4 separate regions of the Homo sapiens genome follow, and regions 2, 3 and 4 are each linked to region 1. Evidence: promoter capture Hi-C in human tissues and cell types (Jung and others, 2019). All regions are on one chromosome and are shown on one strand. The core of a region is centred on a gene start or on the middle of the fragment in contact, and the rest is flanking DNA. Distances in the headings are between cores, read along the strand shown.

Region 1 (6,972 bases), core at 1,142-3,641:
CATATGAACTCTCATTATTATTATACTTCAGCAAAAGGCAAAGGTTAACGTAGGTGAGAGTTTAGGTCCCTTCTGGTCCTAAGATCTATGCACCTGAGGATTGAAGTGCTTCTCTCTCTCAAAGCCCCTATGCTACTTTCGGTCCCCACCATACAATTACATTTCCTCAAAATTCCTGCTCCGCTGTTCCTCAGCTTTCAACTCAGCCATTTCTCAATAAAGCTTTGAAAAAGTCAGAATTCTTTCTCTCTTTCTCTCTCTCCCTCCCCCAGTTTGGCCTCACCAAGTTCTAAAACATGCCCAGATCTGGCCCCTGCCTTGCACCCCAGCCTCGCTCCATGCTGCTCTGTCCTTTCTACCATGTCTCACCAGGCTCTTTCCCTCTCAGCCCTCCACCCCTGGGGTCCACTTTCGTCTCCTCTCCCCATGCTGAGGCCTCCCATTTTCTCTTAGCTTAGAGGCCAGCTCCAGAGCTGGCCCCCACCCCTCCCCTCTGTGCTCTGCCTCAGCACCTCATTTATCTCCTTCATGCACTTGGTACCATTTGTGACAATTTTGCCCTTTATTTCTGTCTCCCTCTCCACCATTTGTTTCTTGCAGTGCTTTTACATTGAGCTCTGGAATAAACAGATATCACTGATGGAGCATCTCCTATGTGCCAGACCCGGTGCTAAGATTTAACCCTGGAAAAACATCTTTATTCAACAAATACTTTTTTGAGCACATATGAGCTACACACTGGAAAGTCCCAATACTAAGGGCCTGGAGAGCCCAGAATAGGCAGGAGAACAGGCGATGCCCGTGGCGGGCTAGGTGGTTCGGTGGGGAGGGCACAGGGTGCTATAAGGTCTCATTCCCCTCATTTAACCAAAGAGGAAATTGGGACTTTGAGAAAGGAGGAGGCTTGTCAGGGGCAGTTCTCAAGCTGTGGCCCATGAACCTCGGGGGTCCCTGAGACCTTTTCAGGGATCCATGAGGGCCTCCCTTTCCCAACTACATGATTTGTATGAGGCTGGGGTTTTTCATACCTACAACTAGGCAACTAAACAGTGTATTTGGAGAGACTGAATGCAGAAGTAGACATGAGAATGTAACCTTCCATTAAGCCTGATATTAAAGAGATCAGTGAAAATGTAAAATGATGACAATCTTCTCAATTTATTTTTGTCTTAGAAAATATAGTTATTTTTAAAGTGTGATTTTTATTACCATGGAATGGAGTTTTATATTATTTTAAATGAATTAATAAATACATTTTAAAAATTCTGCTTTAATTTCTAATACAGCAAATATCGATAAATAACCCACATAAACAAAAGTTCTTTGGAGTCCTCAGTAATTTCCAGGAGTATAAAGAGGTCCTAAGGCAAAAAAAAAAAAAAAAATTACTAATTGGGAGACACAAGTGTCAGAATATACAGTAATTGTTCAGTAATATTGCTGTAAATTAATTAATAGGATTGCCTAGTCACAACAGCAAAGGCATGGAATCAACCCAGATGCCCATCAGTGGTGGATAGGATAAAGAAAATGTGGTCCATATACACCATGGAATACTATGCAGCCATAAAAAAGAACAAAATCATGTCCTTTGCAGCAACATGGATGCAGCTGGACATCATTATCCTAAGTGAATTAACACAGAAACAGAAAACCAACCACTCATGTTCCCACTTATGAGTGACAGCTAAACACTGGGTACTCGTGGACATAAAGGTGGGAACAATAAATGCTACGGATTCCAAAAACGGGGAAGGAGGCAGGGGAAAGGGGTTGAAAAATTACCTGTGGGGTACTATGTTCACTACTTGGGCAACGGGATCATTAGAAACCCAAACCTTAGCACCATGCAGTATATCCATGTAATAAACCGGCACACATACCCCCCGAATTTAAATTAAAAAAAAATTACATTAAAAGATAGGAGTACCTCCTTTACACCACCTGAATTATCATGGCACATAAATCTCACACCCTATTTGCCAAGGCCATTCGTTCCTAGCTGTTTTACAGGTAGGTTAGCTTTCTCAATGCAAGTCTGTGGGACGGATGGAGAAAAATTCCCCGAGCCCTTTGATCCTGCCCCAGCTGGGCCCCGCCGCGCTGAGCCTTGGGCGCGCCCCCTGCTGCCCGCGGCCGGAGCCGTTCGCCACACCCCCGTGTTTATGTCGGTCCACGGGGGTTGCCTGTCCCTTTAATTGGCATGTACCAAGTCCTTCCAGGTCACATTTCCTCCCTACGTCCCAGCCGTTTGGACTCACTGGCCAAAAGTCCAAGAGGACGGAATGTGGAGACAGTGTTGTATTTTTGCGGGGAGTTCTAGGCCGACCGGGAGCGAGAGAACGCTCGGGGGCGAAGCGCGCCATTGCGGCCCTCCCCGCCGCCTGCGGTAGTCCAGTCCCAAGATGGCGGCCACCATGAAGAAGGCGGTGAGTGGGGAGCTCGGGGCTCTGGATGCTCGGGCGGCGCCGGATCTCGGCCGCTGGGGCCCGGGCGCGGGATGCTGGGGGTGCGCAGCTCCGAAGCCCGGCGTGGGACCCGAGGCCGAGGCCGAGGCCCTGAGAGCGGTCCCGCGGCAAGGCCTGCTCGCGCCTGGCGCCCTGAGCGTTTTCCTAGGCACCTGGCCAGCCGAGGCGGGGCGCCGGGGCTGGGGCCGGGAGCCTCGAAGGACGCAGGTCCGCCTCCCGCGATGCCGAGGGTGCCCCCGGGGAGTCTGAGGAACCTGCAGCCCCGGCCTCGCCCCTGAGGTGTGGGAAGCCGAAGGTCCCGTTGAGTGTGGTTGGCCTTGACTCGGGCGTTGCACCGGCATGATCGCATTAGCCTCACTGGTTATGGGTAGCTGCTGCTGGGAGCGTGGTTACGGGTGAGGAAACTGAGGCCCAGAGATGGGGAGTCACCTGCCCGAGGTTACGCAGCTCATAACGGGGACAGCAGGTTCCTGCATCCCCAGATTAGCAGGCCCCAGAGACCCTGTGTCCAACCTGGAGCTGCCCATTTCCACGCTTGATGCCCCTGAGTCCTTCAGGCTAAAACCAGTATTTATTGAGAATGGAAGATGTGCCGGGCCCAGCAGCCGGCCGTTTATCTGTTATCCTCCCCGCAACTCAGCAAGTGCAATGGGTTCCTCTCCACTTTGCAGGTAGAGAAACTTAGACACAGAGCAGTTAGAGGCCCTAAAGTGACTCAGCTAGTAAGAAGCAGAGCTGGAGTTCAAACTCAGGTTTGTTTTTGTTTTTCTCAAAGCACGCCTGTGTAACCACTAAGCCGGCTAAACTTCCATGTGGGGTTTTTAATCCCGTGAGCCTTCCCAGATGTGTAAAGATAGTCAGATAGAAGAAAAAGAAAATTGGAGAGGGGGAAGGAGATAACGGCTGATAATTTGGGGAGCTTTACAGTGTGCTAGGTACAGCTGTAAGTTGTTTTGCGTGTATTGTTTATTTTATGTTCTTTGAGGGAGATACTGTTTTTATCCTTATTTAACAATGAGAAAACAGGCGCGGAGGCAAAGCTAGCATTTAAACACAGGCATTCTGACTCCGGAGTCTGTGTTTTAAACTGCTATAGGGGGTCTTTGATGAGAATCTCTTGGCTGGAGGGATTTGCGTTCATTCCACTTTTAAGACCACATTAGAACTTCTTTGCTTTGCCCCTATCCAGTACCACATAGTCTATGCCATCTGTGCCTGGTGTAGGGTGACCCATTGCCCCCTTTTATATGAAATTGAGGGACTGCCAAAAATGGGAAAGCCCCAGCCAACTCAGGATGTGTTGCTCACCCTACTATTCTGCCATCCAAAAATTCTTACTGTGTCCCAGAGTAGGGTCTAGGGCCATGGTGATTCAAAAAAGTATGAAACTTTGTGAGATTCACTTCACCTCTAGTTTGTTAAATTGGGCCCTCTGGTGTTAGGTATGGCCTTTAATTCCTTGGAAGATACTAGTTGTGGTTCACTCCGTTTTATAGGTATGGAAACTGAAGTGCAGAGAGGTGAAGTAAATGGTAGAAGAGGAAATGGCAGAAGAATGATTTGAACCTTGGATTTTGATTGCAAAATTTCTAATTACCAACTTTTTTTTTCCTTTCATTGATTCAGTAAATTTTCGGGGGCACGTAATATGGCGTAGTCTCAGTTTTAAGTGGAGACAACTGTGGTGACCAGTGAGAAAGCTCTTCTCCCCTTAATCTCATAGCCCCAAAGAACGTATGTTCCAGGGCAGAGCAGGCATTACTCAGATAGTCAGACAGAAAACTAGTTTCTCTGATGAGAACTGTGAAGGAAAAGTGCTTATGAAATGAGGGCCAAAATGAGGTCTGTTTTGAGATCAGAGAAGACTTTCCTGGGAAAGTGCCATTTAAGTTGAGATCTGTGAGATTATGTAAGGAAAGGAAGGGAGAGTTGGATAGGGAGCGAAGCATTCTAGAGAGGAGTATCTGCAGAGACTCTGAGTGCATTTAATACAAGGAAGGCCCGATGGCAGATAATCAGGGGAAGAGAGTTTGAGCCATGATGGGAAAAGAACTTATAGAGGGGTAGGTGGTGGCCAAAATATAAAGGAGCTTCTTTAACTTTGGAGGCTTTAAGAGTCACATGATAGATGCAGTGTCCTCCTGTAGATGTTTCCAGTGTTAGGAACAATTCCCGATAGATTAGCTTGCATGTACACTTTTCCCCTTTGCCCTCACTAGGAGAAAACATATGTGTATGCCAGTGAGTGAGAGTGAAACAGAGAGAGATAGCCCTTTGAGTTTAATTAAAAGCAAATCGTACAATCTGGAGTACTTTACGTTTGTAACACATCGTATCTCTCAACTGGTCATGACTTTGCTGGGGAGAGTGTTTAGATGAGATGATTCAGTCCTCTCCTCTCTAGAGTTCTGCCTTCTAAGATCCAGTTCTTGACCATAAGGAGATCTGCACTTTGATTTCTGTTCATTATCCTATATACAAATGTCCTTTCCTCAGAGAGGCTACCTTTGACCTTTATCTAAAGAAGCCTCCTTCACTCCCCAGGCCCCCAAAACTTTCTACTCCTAAGCTGTTTTATTTTCATCATCACGTTTGTCACCATTGAACATTATCTTGTTCATCTTGTTTTTTGCTCTCTTCCTCCACCAGGATGTATGCTTGCCATTTGTATTCATGAAAGTGGGATAGTGGCTCTCTTGTCACAGTGCATGGCGTATAGGAAACAGTAATTGTTAAATAAACTACTGCATGGATGAAAGTTGAATACAAAAATTAGCTGGGCATGATGGCGTTTGCCTATAATCCCAGCTACTCGGGAGGCTGAGGCACGAGAATCGCTTGAACCTGGGAGGCAGAGGTCGCAGTGAGCCAAGATCACACCACTGCACTCCAGCCTGGCGATAGAGCAAGACTCGTCTCAAAAACAAAAAAACAAACAAAGAAGGTTGAATACAAATACAAAGCAAAAGTTTACATCATACAGACTTGGTAGATATGTTTTTAAAAGTAAAAATAAAAGACTGAAATTGGCCAGAATTTATTTCTAGGGACCCAGCTGTCAGTGCAGACTCCGTGTAATACCTAGACTTGGTGTGAGGCATGACTGAGTATGGTTCAGTTTCCTCCTCTAATCCCGTAAGATATTAGTTCTCAAGAAAAGAGCCCAGGGAATTTTAATTTTTACTTTGGATCCCGAGCAGGCATATTTCTCTTTGGCCTAGCAGAATTTCTTTCTAGATCTGGATCTGTTCTTTGTAATGATTTTTGATAAACAATATTCAGGATGTAAAATGCTTAGCTATCATTTGACTGACTCCATCATCAGGCTTTCTCCTACATGTTCATTTTATCAACCCTATAAGGTAGGAACTAGCCTCTCCATTTTACAGATGAGAAACCTGAGGTGGTTCCAAAGAATTGGGTAATTTGCCCAAGGTTCCTGTTTGCTTGGATTGGATTGCAGCCTGACTCTTCCCACCACTCTGTGTGCTGCCTCAGATACTATAGGATATGAGTTCTTCCTAGAGTTCTTCTGACTTTGAGAGTAGCTACAGCTGGTTTCCCTGAAGGCAGGAGTTCCTAACCTTTTGGGGTTGTGGATCCCTTTGAGAATCTGGTGAAAGCTATGAAGACCTTCCAGAAGGATGCACATACTATACATGCCATTTTGCATACAGTCTCTGGGTATATCGACCTGTCAATGTCCATTGACCACCCCCACCCCCCAGTTAAGAATTACCCACTTCTGGCTGGGCGTGGTGGCTCAAGCCTGTAATCCCAGCACTTTGGGAGGCCGAGGCTGGTGGATCACCTGAGGTTAGGAGTTCAAGACCAGCCTGGCCAACATGGTGAAACCCCTTCTCTACTAAAAATACGAAAATTAGCCGGACATGGTGGCATGTGCATGTAATCTCAGCTACTTGGGAGGCTGAGGCAGGAGAATGGCTTGAACCCGGGAAGTGGAGGTTGCAGTGAGCCAAGATCATGCTACTGCACTTCAGCCTGGGCGACAGAGTGAGACTCTGTCTCACCAAAAAAAAAAAAAAATTACCCACTTCTTGCCAAAATGCAGCTTCAAGAAATGTAGGAATGTTCTAGGACAGTGAGACTAAAACAGAAGCCTCTGTTAGCCATCAAAGGCACTGACATCTTACTGTCTGCTGTAAATGGCACTCCACTGGGCGGCATGCAGTATATTTGACTCACACATCAACTTTAGCCCTTAACCCCAGTGGGAAAACCACTGTAAAGATCTGGATACCAGGGGCCACATGTGTGCTGATGCCTGTGGTTTGGTGGGGCTACAACAGGAAATTCCTGCTTTGGAAAGACAGAAAGCAGATAGCCAAATTCTCTCTACCACATTTTGGAAACTATGTGTTTGAGTCTGATCAAGCATGATTTAGATTCAAATTCAGAAACCATGTATTAGCCTTAGTTATGTGCCAGGCAGTCCTGCACTGGATCCGTTCATGTGAATGGCTCTGTTGAGCCCTCACCAAGA
Region 2 (6,678 bases), core at 567-3,066, 1.0 Mb before region 1:
TTCACTCTGCCTTTCTCTCTTGGCTACCATGGCTATGTACAAAGCCATTAGCGATGAATCATACGTAGGCAGATCAAGGGACACAATATGAGCTGTTTAGTCTTTTCCATCCTTCTCGATATGAATCATTGTCAGATTCAGAGCTGTAGCTCTCCTTATATAACTTTAGCTGCTCCCTCAGATGAATCTATGGGCACAACTCACCTTTAAGCTGAGAGGACAAATGAAGTTCACAGGTGCAAGGCAGAGAACTGGGTCTGAGCAGACTCAAATTTTTTTTTTTTTTTTTTTTTGAGACGGAGTCTCACTCTGTTGCCCAGGCTGGAGTGCAGTGGCACGATCTCGGCTCACTGCAACGTCTGCCTCCTAGGTTCAAACAATTCTCCTGCCTCAGCTTCCTGAGTAGCAGGGATTATAGGCACCCACCACCATACCTGGCTAATTTTTGTATTTTTAGTAGAGATGGGGTTTCACCATATTGGCCAGGCTGATCTCAAACTCCTGACCCCAAGTGATGTGCCCACCTCCACCCAAATTTTAAGTTCTGTTTTGAGGGTTCATTGATTTGGCATGGGGGTCTCAAACTCATAGGTCTACAGGGGCCAGGCTGGTGTGGGAAATGAGAAAGATGGTGATAAATGAGACATGAGAGGCTAAGAAGTGGGTGGGATGGCAGGCAGATTCTCCAGCATCCACACTGCCTCCCCTAGGAGGGCAGACTCATCTCCAGCCAAGGGTGCCAGGTGGAGTGTGGTCTCATCGCCAGACATAGGCTTTACCAAGAGAAACCAGGAAAATAAATTTTTATGCGAAATCTCCTGATTTTTTAGGTCTTGGTAATTCGTTTGTTTTAAAACTGCATGTCCCAAACCAAACCCACCTAAAAACTGAAACTGGGTTATAAACTCTGCCTTGGGAACTTGATCCCAAGCTCTCTAGACCTGCAATGTTCAAGCGGTATGTCCCACATACCACATGGGGCTACTAAGCCCTTCAAATGTGACTGGTCCAAATTAAAATATACTGTAAGTATAAAACACACTGAACTTGAAAGGCTTAGTCCAAAAACCGTAGTGCACAATATCTCCTTCATTTTTATAATATGATACTATTATATCATAATTTTATAATATACTATTATATCATATTATATGATACTATTTATATCATCATATGATGATATGATATACTATATCATCATATGATGATATGATATACTATATCATCATATGATGATATGATACTATATCATCATATGATGATATGATACTATATCATCATATGATGATATGATACTATATCATCATATGATGATATGATACTATATCATCATATGATGATATGATACTATATCATCATATAACATGATGATATGATACTATATCATCATATAACATGATGATATGATACTATATCATCATATAACATGATGATATGATACTATATCATCATATAACATGATGATATGATACTATATCATCATATAACATGATGATATGATACTATTATATCATAATATGATATAATATTTTGGACATACTAGGTTAAATAAGATATAGTTATATAAATCAATTTCACTTATTTCTTTCTCATTCTTTAATGTGACTACTGAAGCATATGAAATTCCATGCATAGCTGACATTCTACTTCTATTGGGCAGCGCTGCTTGAAGCCTTCAGTATCTGATCACTTGCAACAAAAACAGAGACATAATAATAATCACAGACACCATTTACCGGGTTCCTACCATGCATCACTGTATGAAGTTTTTTGTGCTTTCTTTTATTTCATACTCAGAATAACTCTTTGAAGCTATAATCTTACTATGGTCCCCATTTTATAGATGTGAACATTGAGTATTAGAAAGCTAAGTAACTTGTGGCCGGGTGCGGTGGCTCACGCCTGTAATCCCAGCACTTTGGGAGGCCGAGGCGGGCGGATCATGAGGTCAGGAGTTCAAGACTAGCCTGACCAACATGCTGAAACCCTGTCTCTACTAAAAATACAAAAAAAGAAAAAAAAAATTAGCCGGCGCCATGTGTGCACCTGTAGTCCCAGCTACTCAGGAGGCTGAGGCAGGAGAATCACTTGAACCCGGGAGGCAGAGGTTGCAGTGAGCAGAGATCTCGCCACTGCACTCCAGTCTGGGCAACAGAGGGAGACTCCATCTCAAAAAAAAAAAAAAAACCTAAGAAACTTGCTAAGAGTCACACAGTTATCACGTGAGCGATTCAATTCTGGATTTGTCTACAGGTTTTCAGATAATAAAGCCCGAGCAATTAACCACTGTGCTAAGCAAGAAAAACACAGAGAATTTGGACAAATCTGAGGAGAGTTGGTGGCTGGCTTCCAACATGCGCCTAAGCTTAAAATAGCATGCATTTCAGCCCAGAAATTATGGTATCTCTCCAACTTTGAACTTGTGGGCAATGCTTCATTTAAATTCAGAAGACAGAAAATATTTCCAAACAGGTGTACTTTACTCTGTGCAAAATGTACATATTCTTTCTGCATTGAGCTGAAACCAACTATTTGTGACTTGAAACACATTTGATATGCACAAAGGAAGTTCCAAATGTTAAGAAAACTATCCTGGGTCTTTTTAAAACTCGTATAAAAAGATCTACATCTTCCTTCTTTTGTGAATATGCAGCCGCACTGTCCATTTTGCAGGGTTAGGCCTTTACCTACAGGTTTTTCCTAGACATGAGATCCGAGCATATTTACCTGAACCTGATACTTGTCCACAATTTTTATGGAATAGACTCATGGGTGTGTTTGGGAATTGGAGGGTCCCTGGGAATGAATACTCCTCCTGCTCCCTCTCAATGCCTTCATCTGCTTCTAAAAAATATTCAGTAACACTTGTAGAAGGCATGGTGATCAGTGCAGTGTGAGCTTTAGGTTCAGATAATCCTGAGCACTGATCGTGATGCTATAACTTATGAGCTGTGAGCCTGGTGAAGCCATTTACATTCTTTAAGGCTTAGTTCCCTTATCTGAAAAATAAAGACATATGGGCCGGGCACGGTGGCTCACACCTGTAATCCTAGCACTTTGAGAGGCCAAGGCGGGTGGATCACGAGGTCAGGAGTTTGAGACCAGCCTTACCAAAGTGGTGAAACCCCGTCTCTACTAAAAATACAAAAATTAGCCAGGTGTGGTGGCACGAGCCTGTAATCCCAGCTACTCAGGAGGCTGAGGCAGGAGAATCGTTTGAACCTGGGAGTCAGAGGTTGCAGTGAGCCAACATTGCACCGCTGCACTCCAGCCTGACGGCAGAGCCAGACGCCGTCTCAAAAAAATTAAATAAAAAATAATAATAAATAAAGACACACATAGCAGTCACCACATATGATTGCTGTGAGGATTAAAAGAGGTTAGGGTCTAAATGTGCCAGCACAGTCCCTGGCACAAAACAGGCCCCCGAGTACAGTAGCCATTATTACTAAATAATAAACACGATGATGAGGATAATGATTTTTGTTCCTCAGCCCTTGCTTTTACTTTTCTGACTCTAACACTCAGGACTAAACTTGGTCAAAGGGTTAAAACAAATAGAGAAGGGAAAAGATTTCATCTATGAGCCACCAAGGTCATGGGTATTTGGCCGAAACACTTACCTCTTCAAGGCTTTGCATCTGGGTCTTTCATCCCCTTGCTTTTTTGAACACTGTATACCCTCTGTGAATGTAAAAACATTTGAAGAGTATCAAGCACTCCACGGGTAGTGGCAGTTGCAAGAAGTCTGGTCCATTTTTCTACCTTTCACACTGTCAGAGCACGAGACCTTGGGATTTTTATAATCCAAATTGATACTCTCTAGGAAATCTCTTCCACTCCAGCTCCCTGCCCTGGAAAGATTCATTTTCTTGTGGGCATTTCTCCAGCCCTGGTGGGTAACGGTGACTGAGGGTGAATTCCTAACCTTCCCTTGATAAGGTTCAAGTCTTGCTAATTTGAATCTCTCCTATTTTGCTCCCATCCACCTGGTGCTGTTTGATTTATCTGTGCTTGTTTGTGGATTCACTGATCACTTTCTTATTACTCTTCCACCTCCATCCATTTCAGTTTGCGGTGCCTTTCAGGTGATTTCTTATGCCACCCCTTACCACCTGCTCAACCTGACAAATTATCGACTCAAACTGTTGCTCCTGACCTGGCGTGGTCTCTTCCCAGGGATATAAATGATGCAGTTCAGAGGGATAATGATGCCCTAATAAACATACAGTTGTTCCTGTTTCAGCCTGCCCTGTTTGAAATTCAAGCATGCCACAACCACTGGCTGCTGCCCTAGTAAAGGCAGTGAGAAGGAAGAGAGGGAAATTGGAGGGCTGAGGGCTGAGAAATCCACGAGCACCAATAATGAGATCAGAGAAATCACAGAGGGGAGTTGTTGTTTTTTTCAGGGGTGGGGGGCACTTAACATCTTATTTTGCTGTAGTTAAAAATCAGGCAGGAGTGACAGGTTCCCTCTCCAATCAGGTGTGTTCTGAAGCCCTGAAGTTTGGTGGCAAGAAGCAGCAATAAGGCCCCAGAAGCAGGAGGTCAGTAGAGAGGAGATGCCCTCAGCTGCCCATCTTGCCCCTACCCTGGCTCTCACTTGTAGGGACATGGCTGCAGAGGCCTATCTGACCCCAGTTTTGTCCACAGCCACATCTTTAGAGATGAGCACCCTAAATCCCACTTTTATAACTTAGACTCTGAAAACCTTTCCAGATCACAGATTTGGGGCTGCAGCTCTTCTTTTTTATTTTATTTTTTTATTTATTTTAGAGATGGGGTCTTGCCCTCCTGCCCAGGCTGGAGTGCAGTGGCACTGTCATAGCTTACTGCAGCCCTGGGCTCCTGGGCTCAAGCAATCTTCCTATCCTAACTTCCCTAGTATAATAGTTAGGGCTACAGGCATGCACCATCGTGCCCAGATACATTGTTTTACTTTTTTTTTTTTTTTTTTTTTTTGATAAATGAGGTCTTCCTATGTTGTCCAGGCTGGTCTCAAACTCCTGGTTTCAAGCAATCCCCCTGCCTCTGCCTCCCAAAGTGCTGGGATGACAGGCAGGAGCCACCATGTCCAGCCTCCTGTAGTTCTACTAATTGCTATTATTACTCTTCACTGGAGAATCAAGTCAAAAAATCAATAAAACAACATAGATGCAAATATCTTTGACCTTGTTGGCATGACAGTTCTACCACCATTTCCCCTTTAGCTGATGGTAAATCGCATTCGCCCTAAGACCAATTTCTTTGGAGAATGTAAGCCTCTAGCATAAGTAATAAATAAATAAATGCAACCTTAAATCAAGATGAAGACCACCCTAATGTCTTTTCTCTTCACAAACCCACTGGTGGCGCTAGTGAGCAGGGATCACACAGGCTGGCTGTTCCTCACCCTGGACTGTTCCTCCCTTTGGTAGATACAGAAATGGAGAAGACAGGGAGCTCACAGCTACTGTTGCCTGCCCTGTGCCAGGCATCAGCTCTTGTTTCTCATTTAATCCTGGATCAGTTCTTTGTAGTAAGAGGTGTAACCCTGATTTGTGAATGAGGAAGCTGGAAATCAAGCACTCCCCAAGTATTGTAACTTGCATCAAACCCTCCGAGAGCACATTTCCCACCCACATCCTGCTTGACTTGATAATGACTCCCAACACGTACGGATCGCTTACCAGGTGTGAGGCGGTCTGTGTGTCAAAGCAGTGCACTTGGACTTTCTCATTTAAGGTCGCCAACAATCCTGTAGGTTGGAATTGCTGTTCTCCTCATTTTACAGTCGAGAAAATGAGCTCAGAGCAGTTAACTAACTCTTTGAAGGTCATACAGCTAGAAAGTGGTAAATTCTAGAACCTCACCCCCACGCCCTGTAACCACTGTGCAGTGCTACCACAAAGGTGTGTTTGTTTTATTTCCTTATGCCAGAAACACAGTAGGTGGTGCTGCTCAGCAGACAGCTCTGGGCGTCTCTGGGCCCCCTTACTGCTCTGCAGCTGATCCCAGAGAGCCTCTAGGTTTCCAAGTATGCATTGCTTACTCTTTCCTAAGAGCTTTGCCTCTACCAGGACACACCTTTCACTTGTTCCACCTACCCATTTTGACTTGGCATAAAATCAGCTTCTTTGCATGTGAAAAAGACATTTCCAAAACAACCATGACGGCTGTATTTAAAATGCAAATATGCACATTTTTTTTTTCGGAGATGGAGTCTCACTCTGTCACCCAGGCTAGAATGCAGTGGTGCCATCACTGCAATCTCCGTCTCCAAGGTTCAAGTGATTCTCCTGACTCAGCCTCCTGAGTAGCTGGGATTACAGGCATGCGCAACCATGCCTGGCTAATTTTTGTATTTTTAGTAGAGATGGGGTTTCACCATGTTGGTCAGGCTGTCTCGAACTCCTGACCTCAGGTAATCCACCTGCCTCAGCCTCCCAAAGTGCTGGGATTACAGGCATGAGCCACTGTGCGCTGCCAAAATGCACATATAATTTAACACCCAGTTCTCCTCCCAGTACTCTACTGTGCAGTGCAGAGGGACTCATGGGCTGGCCCATTTTATCAGAGCTGTTTGGGGCAATGAAATCATGAAAGGCATTTAAACGCCCATCATTAGAGGTCTAGTTAAATGAATTAGGATATATCAATACTATCTAGCCGTAAAAAAGATACTGACAGGTGGCCCTA
Region 3 (6,574 bases), core at 1,859-4,358, 1.1 Mb before region 1:
GTAGAGCCAGGTATCTTTATGAACCAAAAGGTATATGTGTTTTGCACCTTCCTTCAGACTTTCCTTCTCTCAAGATCGCCATATCTCCATTCAGATTTTTGGGCTAATCTCTACCAAAAGCTTGGCTCTCTGTGGGTAGCCTACTTTCAGTCCATTTGTCTCTGATTGAGGTGGAGTCTGTTAGGGCTTGAGGAGCAAGTAGTTCTTGTGGAAGGGAAGGTATGGCTTGAATAGATCATCCCCAAGTGTGTCTACCACATTGGTTCTTTGGAAGGTGATTGTTGGAGAAACCTCCTGTCAGGAATGATGTATATAGGGCAAATAACAACCTCTCCCTGGTGGCCTTAACCATAAAATAGAAGTATGGACAGCTCTGTTCATCCTAACAATTATTTATAGGCCACCTCAATTTGCCTCTGTTAACTGGAACTCGTGTCCTGAAACCGTGTCTTCCCTTTGCACAGTTCTGTGGTTGCTGAGATGGCATGCACCATAAGGAGTGTCTGCATTTAAGACTTATCTTTTAATGCCAGTTCTCCTTCCAGGAGCTGGGGATATAGCAATGAACCAATCAAATGTTCTTGCCTAAGAATTCAGGTAAGGGAGAAGGAAAATAAAAAATGAATATATTAGCTAGCTGGCATGTTAGACGTGAAATGCTAAGGAGAAAACAAAGCCAAGAAGATGGTAGAGGAAGAGTCAGGGGATGGGGTGGAGGGTTTCATGCTAGATAGGATGGCCAAGCATGGCTCTGCGGAGAAAGGAACCTATGAGTAGACTCATAGGAAGTGAGAAAACAAGCCATGTGATGATCTGAAGGAGGAGAATTCATAATACCAGATTCTCACATGGCTAGACCTTTTGCCCTTTCTTGAGCAACAGCCTGTCATGAATGGAGAGAAGAATTGAGGTCAACCAAAAAAGGGAAATTTTTTTGCCCAGGATCAGATGCTTTTCCAAGTAAACAAGTAGTTACTCCAAGGGATATTTCCAGGAGATTCTTCAACTCCAAAGGCCAAATCTTCACGTTTCCGTTACTGTAGAGCTTTCTAAACACAGATAATTGTTTGCACAGTTGGTCAGCTCACACAAATCCCTTGGCAGTTTCTACAGACATTTATGCATTACACATTTTCGATCCTTGGCCCAAAGTTCTGATGTTTTAGCTCTGACAGTCGGCTCATGAGAACTCAGACTTCTTGATGCAAGCCCCCAGTCTTCACTTTTGAAAGACCATGGACCAAAGTTTTAATTGCCTCGTGGGTGTCTCTTCCTCTTCACTGGGTGCACAGCGTTACTCATAATCATGCTTCTGATTTGTGTCTGTTAAAAGAAGGATCAGAAACAGACTGGCAAGGTCTTACAGTTCTTGGTAAAACTCTTGGAAAAGACTTTCTTTTTTGATTTGCTTGTGTATTTTAGTGGTGTCTTCAGGCTATTTAGAGAAAAGTAGTATGTCTATTGATTCGGCCATTGGCAGGGACTTAAATGATGGTACGTGTTGGCTGTGTAGTACCTCTGCTTCTTCTAGTTGGATTAAATCCAAGGACAGGTAAATTCTTTTGGCATTTGGCTTGACCAGAGACTTTGTATCTGCCATATTGGTAATTGGCCACCTTGGTGATTTTTGGACTAATGCTCCAGGGAGAGAAACTAAATAACTCTCTCCTCCAACCTTTTCCCAAGCAGTTCTCTCTACCTGGCATTATTTTTTAAAATTGACTTAAGCTTTGCCCCCTCTTGGAAGCATTCTATTACCCCATGTCTGTCTTCAAGATGAATTCAGCTTCCTGCTCTGTTGTCCCATAAGTATCCTGGGCATAGTTCTGCTCTGGGACTCATCACCTATTGCTGAAATCCTTTTGTTTTCTTACCTGTTTCCTACTGAACAGAGAGCTTCTTGAGGTCCAGCACTGGGGCTTAATTTGATTCATTTAGTAAGTTTTTGTTGGGAACTTACTATATATGAAGCACTGGATTCAACTCTGGGAACTCAAAAGTGAACAGAATGTACACAATTCTGCTCTCATGGAATTTATAGTCTACTGGAGTTAGACAGACATTTTAAAAAATTATCATACAGGAAATTGCAATGAGTAATTTTGTTGGGTACTATGGAGGGAAATCCTTTAAGGGCCCTGTTTGTTTCTGACTTTAAAGCACTAGCAACAAATTGGCATTAACTGATTATGTGATTTGAATGGAATTGAGGATCTCAGCGTTGGCCCTCCGTCCTGCTGTTGTCAACTCTCCCAAGTTTTTAAATGCCAAGTTGTAGTTGCCTTTGTTCCGCTAAATTGAAAAATTTACCCCGTGCAAATGAATAACTAAATTCATATTTTTTTGAAGAATTCTATCTAAATGGAGATTTGATGGCTTTCAGAAACCTTTAAAACTTCCCTTTCCCCCATATGAATTCCACTATGGATTGACATATGGCATATTTTCAATGTCTAGTTTTTGTAATTAATTGAAGGCTCACTCTGTCTGAGAAAGAGAGTGCTTTGGCATTTCCGAGACCTGTGGATTCCATCCAGAGTACCACACAGCAATGCAGAGACTCCACTGCCGCTCACCTAGCTAGGAGGCTGCAGCTCTGTTTGTGAAATGTTGCTATTCAGCTTTCAAGTTTATTGGGAGCACTGAGTTCCAAGGATAGCAATTAGGTTGTTCTGCATTCTTCGGCTGGCTCAGGATGCACGTGCTGAGACTGCACATCATAGCAACGGCTCCTTGACTGCCAGGGAGAACAGTGTGAAAGCTTTCCGTGGCTCATCTCAACCACCTCCTCCTCGCCCCTGGCGCTCCGCAATCCTCTCTACTCCTTGGTGATACCTTTTTAAATCTCCCCATTATGTTCAACAGCATGTCAGCTGAGAGTTCAGGCTTACGAGATCATGTCCAATAGGCCAAAGTGTCGAAAATAAATGTTAGCTCATAAAACATACGTGGCACATCTATAGGGCCTGAGGAAAGCCCACACAGAGAAAAAAATCTTAAGTGAACTTGTTTAACCCAGCAGTGACAGGTACAGGAATGGGATTTTCTTTTTTTTTTTTTTTTTTTTTATTAAACAGAGTTTTTCCAACTTCCAGGCTGGCAAAGAAGTTGTAAAGGGAATGTACATTTTGCACCGTAATAGAAAGAGATAAGTAGGGATTTTTCCAAGATTTGGAAAGCTGGTCTTCGTAAGTCCATTTATTTATTCAACAAAAACTTTATGAAGTATCTATTACATGCCAGGCACTGTACTTGGCATTTGGGATAACATAGTGACTGAGAAAAGATTTGCCCTTGAGAAAAATCACAGCCCCTTTGGAGGGACTGACATTAACCATTTAATCACATAAATATGATTTTTCACACAGTAATAATAGCTATGAAGATTAAAAAGCTAGATCATAAGATACGTGGCTATAAGAGAACTCCCTGATAGGGTGACATTTTAGATAAGTCTCAAAGGGTGAGAATAAACTGTCTACATGAAGAACAAGAAAAGAACCTTTCAGTCAAAGGAAATAGCAAGTGCCCAGACCCTACTGAGGAAGGCCTGGGGAGCGCCCAAGAATCCTGTGTTAATCAGGGTTCTCCAGAGGGACAGAACTAATAGGATAGATGTATATATCAAGAGGAGTTTATTAGGAGAATTGACTCACAATTGCAAGGTGAAGTCCCACAATAGGCCATCTGCAAGCTGAGGAGCAAAGAAATCAGTCCAAATCCCTAAACCTCAAAAGTAGGGAAGCTGACAGTGCAGTCTTCAGTTTGTGGCCGAAGGCCCAAGAGCCCCTGGCAAACAAGTGTTGTAAGTCTAAGAGTCCAAAAGCTGAAGAACTTGGAGTCTGATGTTTGAGAGCAGGAAGCATCCAGCACAGGAGAAAGATGAAGGCCAGAGGACTCAGCAAATCTGCTCTTTCCATCTTCTCCTGCCTGCTTTATTGTAGCTGTGCTGGCAGCTGACTAGATGGTGCCCACCCAGACTGAGGGTGGGTCTGCCTCTCCCACACCACTGACTCCAATGTTAATCTCCTTTGTCAACACCCTCACAGACACCCCCAGAAACAATACTTGGCGTCCTTCAATTCAATCAAATCGACACTCAATATTAACTGTCACAAATACGAAGGAGACCATTCTGACTGGGGTTGAGAATAGGGTGGAGAGAGTCAGGGCATGAAGCCATGGGGGAATAGGTTTGCTGGAATTTGAAAGCCATGAGACAGAGTGAGGAGTTCCTTCCAATTGAAAGATTTTAAGCAGCAGAATTCAGACATGAACTTTGGCTGGGTTTGGAATGGAGTGCACCTCTGTAAGACTGAGGTGCACCATTTCCCCGTCTGCCAAAATGGAGCAGCTGACAGCAGCTTGCTTGCAAGGGTCTCCGAGCCCACAAGCCCAGGTGTGCTTTGAGGTGGCTTCCTCAGCATCTTAAGATAACTCACAGCAATTATTTTGCTGTGGATTTGCAGAATAAACAAAGGCTTCATCGAGCCTCTGGTTTGAGGTAATAAGTCACTAATGCTGTGTGTGCACACTCCTAAGCTTCAAGCCTGTGTGGATTCTTTCTTCAATTTTACTCCCCTTTTCGTTTGCTGTTTTGTTTCCAATATGTCATGTTTCCATATAACAAAACACGCATACAGACTTGATACCATTTAATATTTAATTCAAATAATAAAATACTTACCATATCAGATAAAATGTTTACATGTATGAATGTTTATATTCCCTCAGGAGTGTGTTTTGGAGGATGGGTGAAACTCTGATAGCACACAGTGGCATTTTAAGTGGTACACAGATAAACTTCCTAACAATTTAATTGTAATGTATTTATTTTAAGGTGTAATACTTGTGTAAAATGAGGACCACATCAATTTGGTAATTTTGTAGCTATTATCGCTAGATTGCCAATGTCAGTTGTGATAGAAAATACACTGTTCAAATTCATTTACTTAAGAAGTGAGTTTATGTAAAGCCTGGATAGTAGTGCAGGAGATAGTTCTATAACGGCAACATTGGTGAAAGAAGTACATCTATGCTGAGCATTATAAAACACAGTCCCTTGAAAGGGATTGTGTAGTCATCAGCCACTTCTCTAGGTTTGTATGCCGCTCCCGGTTTTCACTGGATGTGGGTTGCCTGCTGAGCTTCCAGCAAAGCTACAGATTCAAGTTGCTTTGCTGAAAATATAGCTTAAATAATTTGTAAGATTTACCTACTACTTAAATCCTTCATTTATATTCTGATTTTGCTCATTAAAATTTGCAATATGATTGTATTTTATATGCAAAGCCATACTATTTCTTGGTAGATCCATTTATTCCCTTACCTTAGATTTTTGAAGATGCAAAAGTATCACGACTTCCTGTCCAAAAGGAAATGAGGCACTGTTGATGCCAATGCAGCATTTATACTTAATGTAGAGAAAGCACTCCATTATAGTGTACTTCAGAAATTCAGAGAGTGTGCTAAAAACCCGTGCTTCTGGTCAGCCTCAGTGGCTCACGCCTGTAATCCCAGTACTTTGGGAGGCAGAGAGATTGGAGGATCACTAGAACCCAGAAGTTCAAGACTAGCCTGGGCAACATAACAAGAGCCTGTCTCTACTAAAAATAAAAATAAATTAGCTAGACATGGTGGTACCCGCCTGTTGTACCAGCTACTAGAGAGGCTGACAAGGGTGGATTGCTGGAGCCCAGGAGTTCAAGGTTGCAGTGAGCCATGATTGCACCACTGTATTACAACCTGGGTGACAAAGCAAGGCCCTGTCTCAAAAATATAACAACAAAACCGATGCTTTTGTTTGTTTCCCAGAGGAGGGTTTTGGAAGAAACTACTGACACAGCATGTGACAGCAAGCATCACACTCACAATATCGTTTCCTTGTGTGACCGCTCCCATCAATTAGAATTGACATCAGTTCCAATCCTATACTTTATAGCCCTATACGAGAGACCTTAGTAGAATTGGAAACCAACCTAGTTACCATTCTGTGTTGTCACATCCCTTTTTTAATGTGTAAACTGAGTCAAGTGTCGACTGAAGCTTCAGCCAGAATTCAATGCCAGGATTCATTCTCCGTCTTAACACTAGCCACCAGATGATGTTTTATCAGTCAACTTGAGTCTTCTCATATTACCCGTTGACTGTGTTCTGTTTGACAAAGAAGCTGTGTGGGTTGCTAGTATATTTTTCCCTCAAGACCACCTAACAAACACGGCATTACTTGTGGGATAAATGTTAGCCATGGGAAAAGGAAACAATATTCCCTGGTATGCTGCTCATTGTCACATGCTATGTCTTTAGTTTCTTCTGAAACCCTTCTTGGAAACATTTCTCTCCCAGTTGTAATTTGTATATTGCTGCATCTTTTGAAAAATTATTTTGAAGTCTTAAGATAAAATACTACATGAGAACGGAGTGGGAAAGGATCTAAGAAGCAGTTGTAAAAATAACATTCTGGGACAGTGGCACTCATGGTAAAGTATCTTTGTTGCATCACGTTTGTTTTGGACATTCTGCTGGCTAGAAAGAGTAGCATAGACCACGGATTGGCAAACTTTTTCTGTAAAAG
Region 4 (6,544 bases), core at 2,422-4,921, 1.4 Mb after region 1:
AATATCTTTGTTCTATACAAATTTGTCTTTAACTTATTCAAACCAGTTGTAACATTTTACAGATTCCCTAATTAATAACAGGCTAAATCAGGCCAGGCATGGTGGTTCAAGACTGTAATACCAGCACTTTGGGAGGTTGAGGCAGGAGGATCACATGAGGTCAGGAGTTCAAGACCAGCCTGGCCAACATGGTGAAACCCCATCTCTACTAAAAATACAACAAAAAATTAGTCGGGCATCATGACGCATGCCTGTATTCCCAGCTACTCAGCAGGCCGAGACAGGAGAATCTTGAACCCGGGAAGTTGTAATTTGATCGCAATGTGGTCATGGTAGCATGCGAAAGAGAGGCTTGAACCCAGGAAGCAGAGGTTGCAGTGAGCCGAGATTGTACCACTGCACTCCAGCCTGGGCAACAGAGTGAGACTCCATTTCAAATAAATAAATAAATAAATAAATAAATAAATAAAATCTTTAATGTGTTCATTTTTCATCTGTATGAGAATTACGATTTGTATCTTTTTTATTAATATTACCCTTCAACATACGTGTGTCGGAATCTCTCAGTCTTCATAACACCTAACTGGTTTTTCATAGTCTTAAACCTCTTTGTCATATATGATGGTGAATTCTCAGTAATATCGGCAATACTAATTCTCTTTTTGACAATGTCCATTCTAGAATTTGGCCATTCACCGCATGCCTCATTTGAAGGGTTATGCTTCTAATGTCAACATTTCCGCATTTCCTGTTTCATTGCATCTTATTTTATACTCTCTTATTCTTCCTCATGGACACAGTTTCCGCAGATAAGTCTTTGAGTTTCTTAAACATACCTAAGACAAAAAGCTTCATCTGCGCAAGGCATCCTGAACAGTGCCTGACACGTGTCCACATTCAAAGAATAGTTGTTGTCTTAGGTTAAGTTTTTCCAGATGGGTTGGTCTAATGGTTCTAATTGCTTATTTTGCAGCCTCCTTGGCATTAATTTCCTGTGCTTTATTCACAAACCATTCTAACATAGCACATCTGCACTTACTGCACATACATACGAAAACTTTGAGTGGAATGAATTACTTATTTTTCACTTTCCCTTGGTGATCACACACATGTACACACACATACACACACTACTTTTGTTTATGCCTCCACCAGCCCTCTGAGTCTCCTATCTGGCATTGGCCTTTTAATGGCAATTTGAGATTCCAATTTTGTAGAGACAAAGAGGACACCCCATATCCAGCCACTGAATCGGGTGATTTCATTTGAGACTTGGTTTCAAGGCTAAGACTGCAGTCTCATATTTCCCTAGGTCTTCAGCTTTCTGAAATCATAAGCCTGGCAACAATCTGCAGAGTTTCTTCTAGTGGGTTTACAGAGCAGTCCCATCCCAACTCTGTCCTCTAAGCCATAAGCATGCCTCTGTTTTCCTACCTTCATATTTTTAACCTGATTACCTGCAGGCACTGTCCTCCCAGCCAGGGCTGCCTGCATCCAGACCAGGAGCTCAGCATGAGATGTTCATTCTGTTTCCAAGCCTAGCTATGTCTCTGTTGGTATTTCTTGCTTGACATTTCGTCTATCATGACTGTTTCTGAAACTGAGAGATTAAGTCAAAGTATGATAATACCATAATATTTTGACCACAACTGTGTTTATTATTCACATTGTATAACATGACTCATTTGCATATTAACAAAATAAAATAAAACTTTGCATTGACAGAAAAGTCCACTAGTTACACTACTTAGAAAGACATAAATAGAAGTGACTAAAAAAAAAAAACTTAATGGGAGCTTGATATTTTTTTTTTTTCACGTGCCACTATGACAACAGTGCAATCAAATTAGAACTCAGGATTAAGAAACTCCCTCAAAACCGCGTAACTACATGGAAACTGAACAACCTGCTCCTGAATGACTACTGGGTAAACAACGAAATGAAGGCAGAAATAAATAAGTTCTTTGAAACCAATGAGAACAAAGACACCACATACCAGAATCTCGGAGACACATTTAAAGCAGTGTCTAAAGGGAAGTTTATAGCACTAACTGCCCACAAGAGAAAGCAGAAAAGATCTAAAATCGACACCCTAACATCACAATTAAAAGAACTAGAGAAGCAAGAGCAAACAAATGGAAAAGCTAGCAGAAGACAAGAAATACGTAAGATAATTAATTTTAAAATAACCTTTAGAAAAGCTAATGAATATTGCACTGATATCTACAAACTGATAAAAACTTTGCTGCCACCTCCAACATGCAATATTAAAACATTAAATATTTTAAAATCGCTCCAAAAATAATGTTAATCCTTGTTTTTTTCTGTAATTTTCCAATTCTAAAGACAATCCACTAGTCTGGTGTACACTTTTGAGCTATTCTGTCCACCACCTATTAAGAAGATAATATCTTAATTCAAAGGAGGTTCATACAAAGAGACAGAAAATTGACTGCTTAATGAGTTTGCAATGATTCCTTTCTAATAAACTTAGCACATCTGCATTACTGGTCATATATATGAAGAGTGAAGTTTGAATTTGTTCCTTGAAGCTTATGTAGAAATCAGAAAAGCAGACATTTTTTCCAGTGTCATATCTGAACATACCTGTGTATTCTTTGGGTTCTTCTCATCAAAACTCAGAATAACAGATCCTGGCCAGGTGTGGCTCATGCCTATAATCCCAGCACTTCGGGAGGCTGAAGCAGGTGGATCACCTGAGGTCAGGAGTTCGAAACCAACCTGGCCAACATGGTGAAACCCTGTGTCTACTAAATACACAAGAAGTATCTGGACATAGTGGTGGGCACATGTAATCCCAGCTACTGAGGAGGCTGAGGCAGGAGAATCACTTGAACCTGGAAGGCGGAGGTTGCAGCGAGCTGAGATCGCGCCACTGCATGCCAACCCGGGTGACAAGGGCAAAACTCCATCTCAAAAAAAAAAAAATCCTGGAGATTTTAAAGATGGGCAGTATCAATTAGATTGGCAGTAACCAAGGCTAATTTAACTTCCAAGGGACATTTGACACTATCTGGAGACACTTTTGGTTATCAAAATGGAAAGAATATACAGTTGGCATTGAATGGGTAAGAGGCCAGAGTTGTTGCAAAACATCCTCCAATGCACAGGACGCCCCCTGGATAAAGATTAATCTAGACCTAAACGTCAGTAGGGCAAATGCTGAGAAACTCAGGGGCAGACTTTACAATTCCCATTTGAGAAGCGTTTAATAAATTGTATGTCTAATATATATATATACACACACATATACATATATACACATATATACATATATACATGTGTACATATATACATATATACATATGTGTACATATATCCAGAGAAGATATGCATATATTTATACATTTATGTACATAACATCACTGTGTATGTATATGCAGGGTGTTTTACTTTGCAGGAAAACATGTTGTTATTAAATTTAGGAAATTTCCTCCCACATGTCTTGGTTTATCCCACAAGAGCTTGCTGTGCTCAAAGATACTACCTTGACTGAGCACTTTCTCATAAACTTGCTGAACCTTCATAAAGATCCCAGGTGGGTATTATTATTATTCCCTCAGTGCAGATGAGAATACTGAGATCGAGAAGCGTTTAGTAACTTCCCTGAGGCCATAGAACTGGTAAGTGGAGGAGCCAAGATTCTCACCCAGTCTAGTTCATCTTACTCATTGTTTGCAGTGTTTAATTGCTTACCCAATAAGGTCATTAAGGCACTTTCCACTGGGAAGTGTTGCCTTCCATCTCTTAGGAATGGTAGATGTATGTACTAGTTGGCACTTAAGAAGTGGTGATGTCTGAAACATTAAGAAAACTTCAGCAGTGAAAGAAGGCACACATCAAAGCCACAGAGATGAATGCTAATGAGAAGAGTAAACATATGAAACTGCTTTTTTCTTCCTTCAAAAACAATTTCCAAGTCCCTACCAGGTGCTGTGCAGATAAAGCAGGGTCACAGAAGTGCTTTTCTGCACAGGTTGAGCAGGAGGTGCACCGAGGCACAGTCTTAGCCTGAGGTGTTTCTTATAGCTAAGCTGAGAATTACGTTTGATTCACATTGGCTGGATTTCATTGCAGGATCCTGGAGTGCCCAGAAAACCCAAAAGAAGCAGACTCAGGCTGCGATCAGAAGAATTTTATTATCCAAGTTGCAACATGCAAATATCTTCTTTGCAGTCTGCTTTCTGCAAACATCAAGTGAAAAAAATAAGCAGGAAAAATGAGAAAAAAAAAAAAAAAAACTGGTACAGTTCATGCTTCACAAAGTCCTGTAGGTTATTACCATGTTTTAAGTTGTGAGTTGCAAACACAAGCTGTTCTTAAACAAGAACAAAAAGAAAAAGCAGATGGTTTCTTTTTACATCCTGTGAAACTTTTCCTGAATATAAGCATATGTTCCCTTCTCCCCAGCTGGCATTCCCCATGCAAATGATCAGTTTGGGGTTTTTTTTGTTTTTGTTTGTAATTTTGAGGAAAATTCTTGATGCCCATCCCCCATCCCACTCTAAATCCCATAATACCTAGAAATAAGAACAGGGAAAGGCAATCGCCAAAATATTTGATCAAAGTAAGTCTTTGAGGCATCATTGCTGTGTAGAAGTATGTTTGAGCCTAAGTATCATCCTGACTTTATCGTTATTACTATTATTTTTACATTATGTCTATTTTTCTCAACAAACATCTTTCTTGGTACTCAATTGTTTTTCCTATATGTGACATGGTAGAAAAATGTGAGATTTGCAGTTATAAAGACTTGGATTCAAGTTTACTTACTTATTAAATGACTGTTACCTTTGGGAAAATTATTTTAAATTTATTTTAAAATATTTTTATTCTCTGTGACCCTCAGTTTTATAATTCACAAAGTGGAGACAATAACATCTCCATTTTCACAGAGATTTAGAAGAGAAATATATATAAGGTACTGGAACAAGGCTGACCCTCAATAAATGGTTACTATTTTGAACTCCGGGCAAATTGTATAACCTCGAACCACTCACTTCTCAAAAATCTGGTTCTTCGACCAGCAGCATCGGCAGGATTCAGAAGCTTGTTAAAAATCCCAAAATCTCAGATCTGCTACATTTTGTTCTGCATTGTAAATAAGCCCCCTAGATGATTCTTAATCTCATTTCAGTTTGAGAGACACTGCACTAAATCTTATTTGCCTCATTCACATATATAGTGACAGCACTAGCACTTACTTCATAGAAGTATTGGAAGATGAAATAAGATAGTGTATTATTTGTATAGTATTGCATGAAGTGCCTAGCACATACTACCTTTTAAATAAATGGTAGTTATTATTGAGGTGTTACTGCTTTATTGGTGGTGTTGATCTGGAAATGTATATGGGAACTTCAAGAGCCTTGAATGGGCTTCAGTTTTGCTCAATTATCTGCATTGTTTTAAAAGAGTTTCCCACAGATGTTAACTATCATCCTGGCTTAGGTGGACTGCAATTGTGTTTGCTTCACTACACATCTTAGCAGCCAAAAGAGTGTCTCTCTTGTTACTACTTAAATTCTTCTTGTGCCTTAAGAGGTATAGGAGGAGGAGAATCCAATGTTTCTGAACAGTTTTGTTTTATAGCCAGATACAACTGTTACAGTCAAAGCGCTACTTGCTCCAATATTAGTTATCTATGGCTATGTAAAAAAACTATCCCAAACTTAGTACAAAACAAAACAAAAAGCCATTTAAATCATGCAGTTTGAGGGGATCAGTTATTCAGGAGAAGCCTAGCTGGGTAGCTCTGGCATGAGATCCTGCCTGAGATCGCAGTCCATTTGATGACCAGAGCTGGAATCATCTGAAGGCTTGACTGAGGCTGGAGGTTCAGCTTTCAAGGTGGTTCACACATGTGACTGTTAGCTTGAACCAGCAATCAGAGAGAGACATTGAGAGGTGGAGGAGAGAAAAGCTATAGTGGCCTTTATAACCTCATCTCACAAGTGACACACCATCATTTCCATTGTATTCTATTGGTCACACACACCAACCCTGGTACAATGTGGAAAGGTACTACAGAAGGGTGTGACTACCAGGAAGCAGAGATTGCTGGGGACCATCTTGAAGGCTGGCTACCACAGTCTCTGGCCCACTAATTTATACGAAAGTAGATGAGTGTAATGAATATAATGCAACCTCCCAATTAATTTCATATCCAGTTCAACTTGTCTCTCTTCCAAGAAGCTTCTCTGCCAAGATATATTTTTCAATCATCTCCCTCCTATAAATGTTGACAGCATTTGTTCACGCTCTACTCTTTTAAAGATGTCATTTTGCTCCATTTTTATTTCACAAATGCCAGTCTAGTCACCTTGAGGGCAAAAGTTGTGTCAAATTATTTTAAGGATTCCTTAAAATTTTCAGTATGTGCTAAGTATATAGTAGGTACTCATAATAATTATACTTTAAATGATTAAAACATAAGTGTTAGCTAAAAACTAAATTTTGTTGGATTAACTGGCTTAGATTCTACAGAATGGTCAAGGCAAAATGTGATTGCAATTTATTTTTA

The links. Contacts are between HindIII fragments. The study calls those that stand out against the background at their distance.
Region 2: a fragment that was not itself captured here is called in contact with the fragment with the promoter of PFDN4 in region 1 in 1 of the 25 tissues and cell types used here (lymphoblastoid cells).
Region 3: a contact is called between a fragment that was not itself captured here and the fragment with the promoter of PFDN4 in region 1, in 1 of the 25 tissues and cell types used here (lymphoblastoid cells).
Region 4: a fragment that was not itself captured here is called in contact with the fragment with the promoter of PFDN4 in region 1 in 1 of the 25 tissues and cell types used here (heart left ventricle).

The regions. Positions count from the first base shown.
Region 1 is chr20:54,205,696-54,212,667 of GRCh38, forward strand. PFDN4 (prefoldin subunit 4) reads left to right here and starts at 2,392. Exons shown (of 4, transcript NM_002623.4): 1 at 2,392-2,429. The coding sequence starts at 2,406. LOC124904937 (a long non-coding RNA gene) reads right to left here and starts at 2,346. Exons shown (of 2, transcript XR_007067669.1): 1 at 2,262-2,346; 2 at 1,251-1,361. RefSeq lists enhancers at 1,789-2,606, 2,147-2,466, 2,607-3,423 and a silencer at 2,457-2,726. The HindIII fragment of the contact is 11,424 bases long and covers 1-6,972 here.
Region 2 is chr20:53,202,920-53,209,597 of GRCh38, forward strand. The region is part of intron 1 of TSHZ2 (teashirt zinc finger homeobox 2); the gene reads left to right. Among named protein-coding and RNA genes, the nearest start is that of TSHZ2, 230 kb to the left of the region's middle. The HindIII fragment of the contact is 5,589 bases long and covers 1-4,611 here.
Region 3 is chr20:53,086,274-53,092,847 of GRCh38, forward strand. All of the region lies in intron 1 of TSHZ2 (teashirt zinc finger homeobox 2), which reads left to right. Among named protein-coding and RNA genes, the nearest start is that of TSHZ2, 120 kb to the left of the region's middle. RefSeq lists a silencer at 2,443-2,669. The HindIII fragment of the contact is 4,369 bases long and covers 925-5,293 here.
Region 4 is chr20:55,652,225-55,658,768 of GRCh38, forward strand. No RefSeq gene overlaps it. Among named protein-coding and RNA genes, the nearest start is that of LINC01441, 230 kb to the left of the region's middle. The HindIII fragment of the contact is 3,943 bases long and covers 1,701-5,643 here.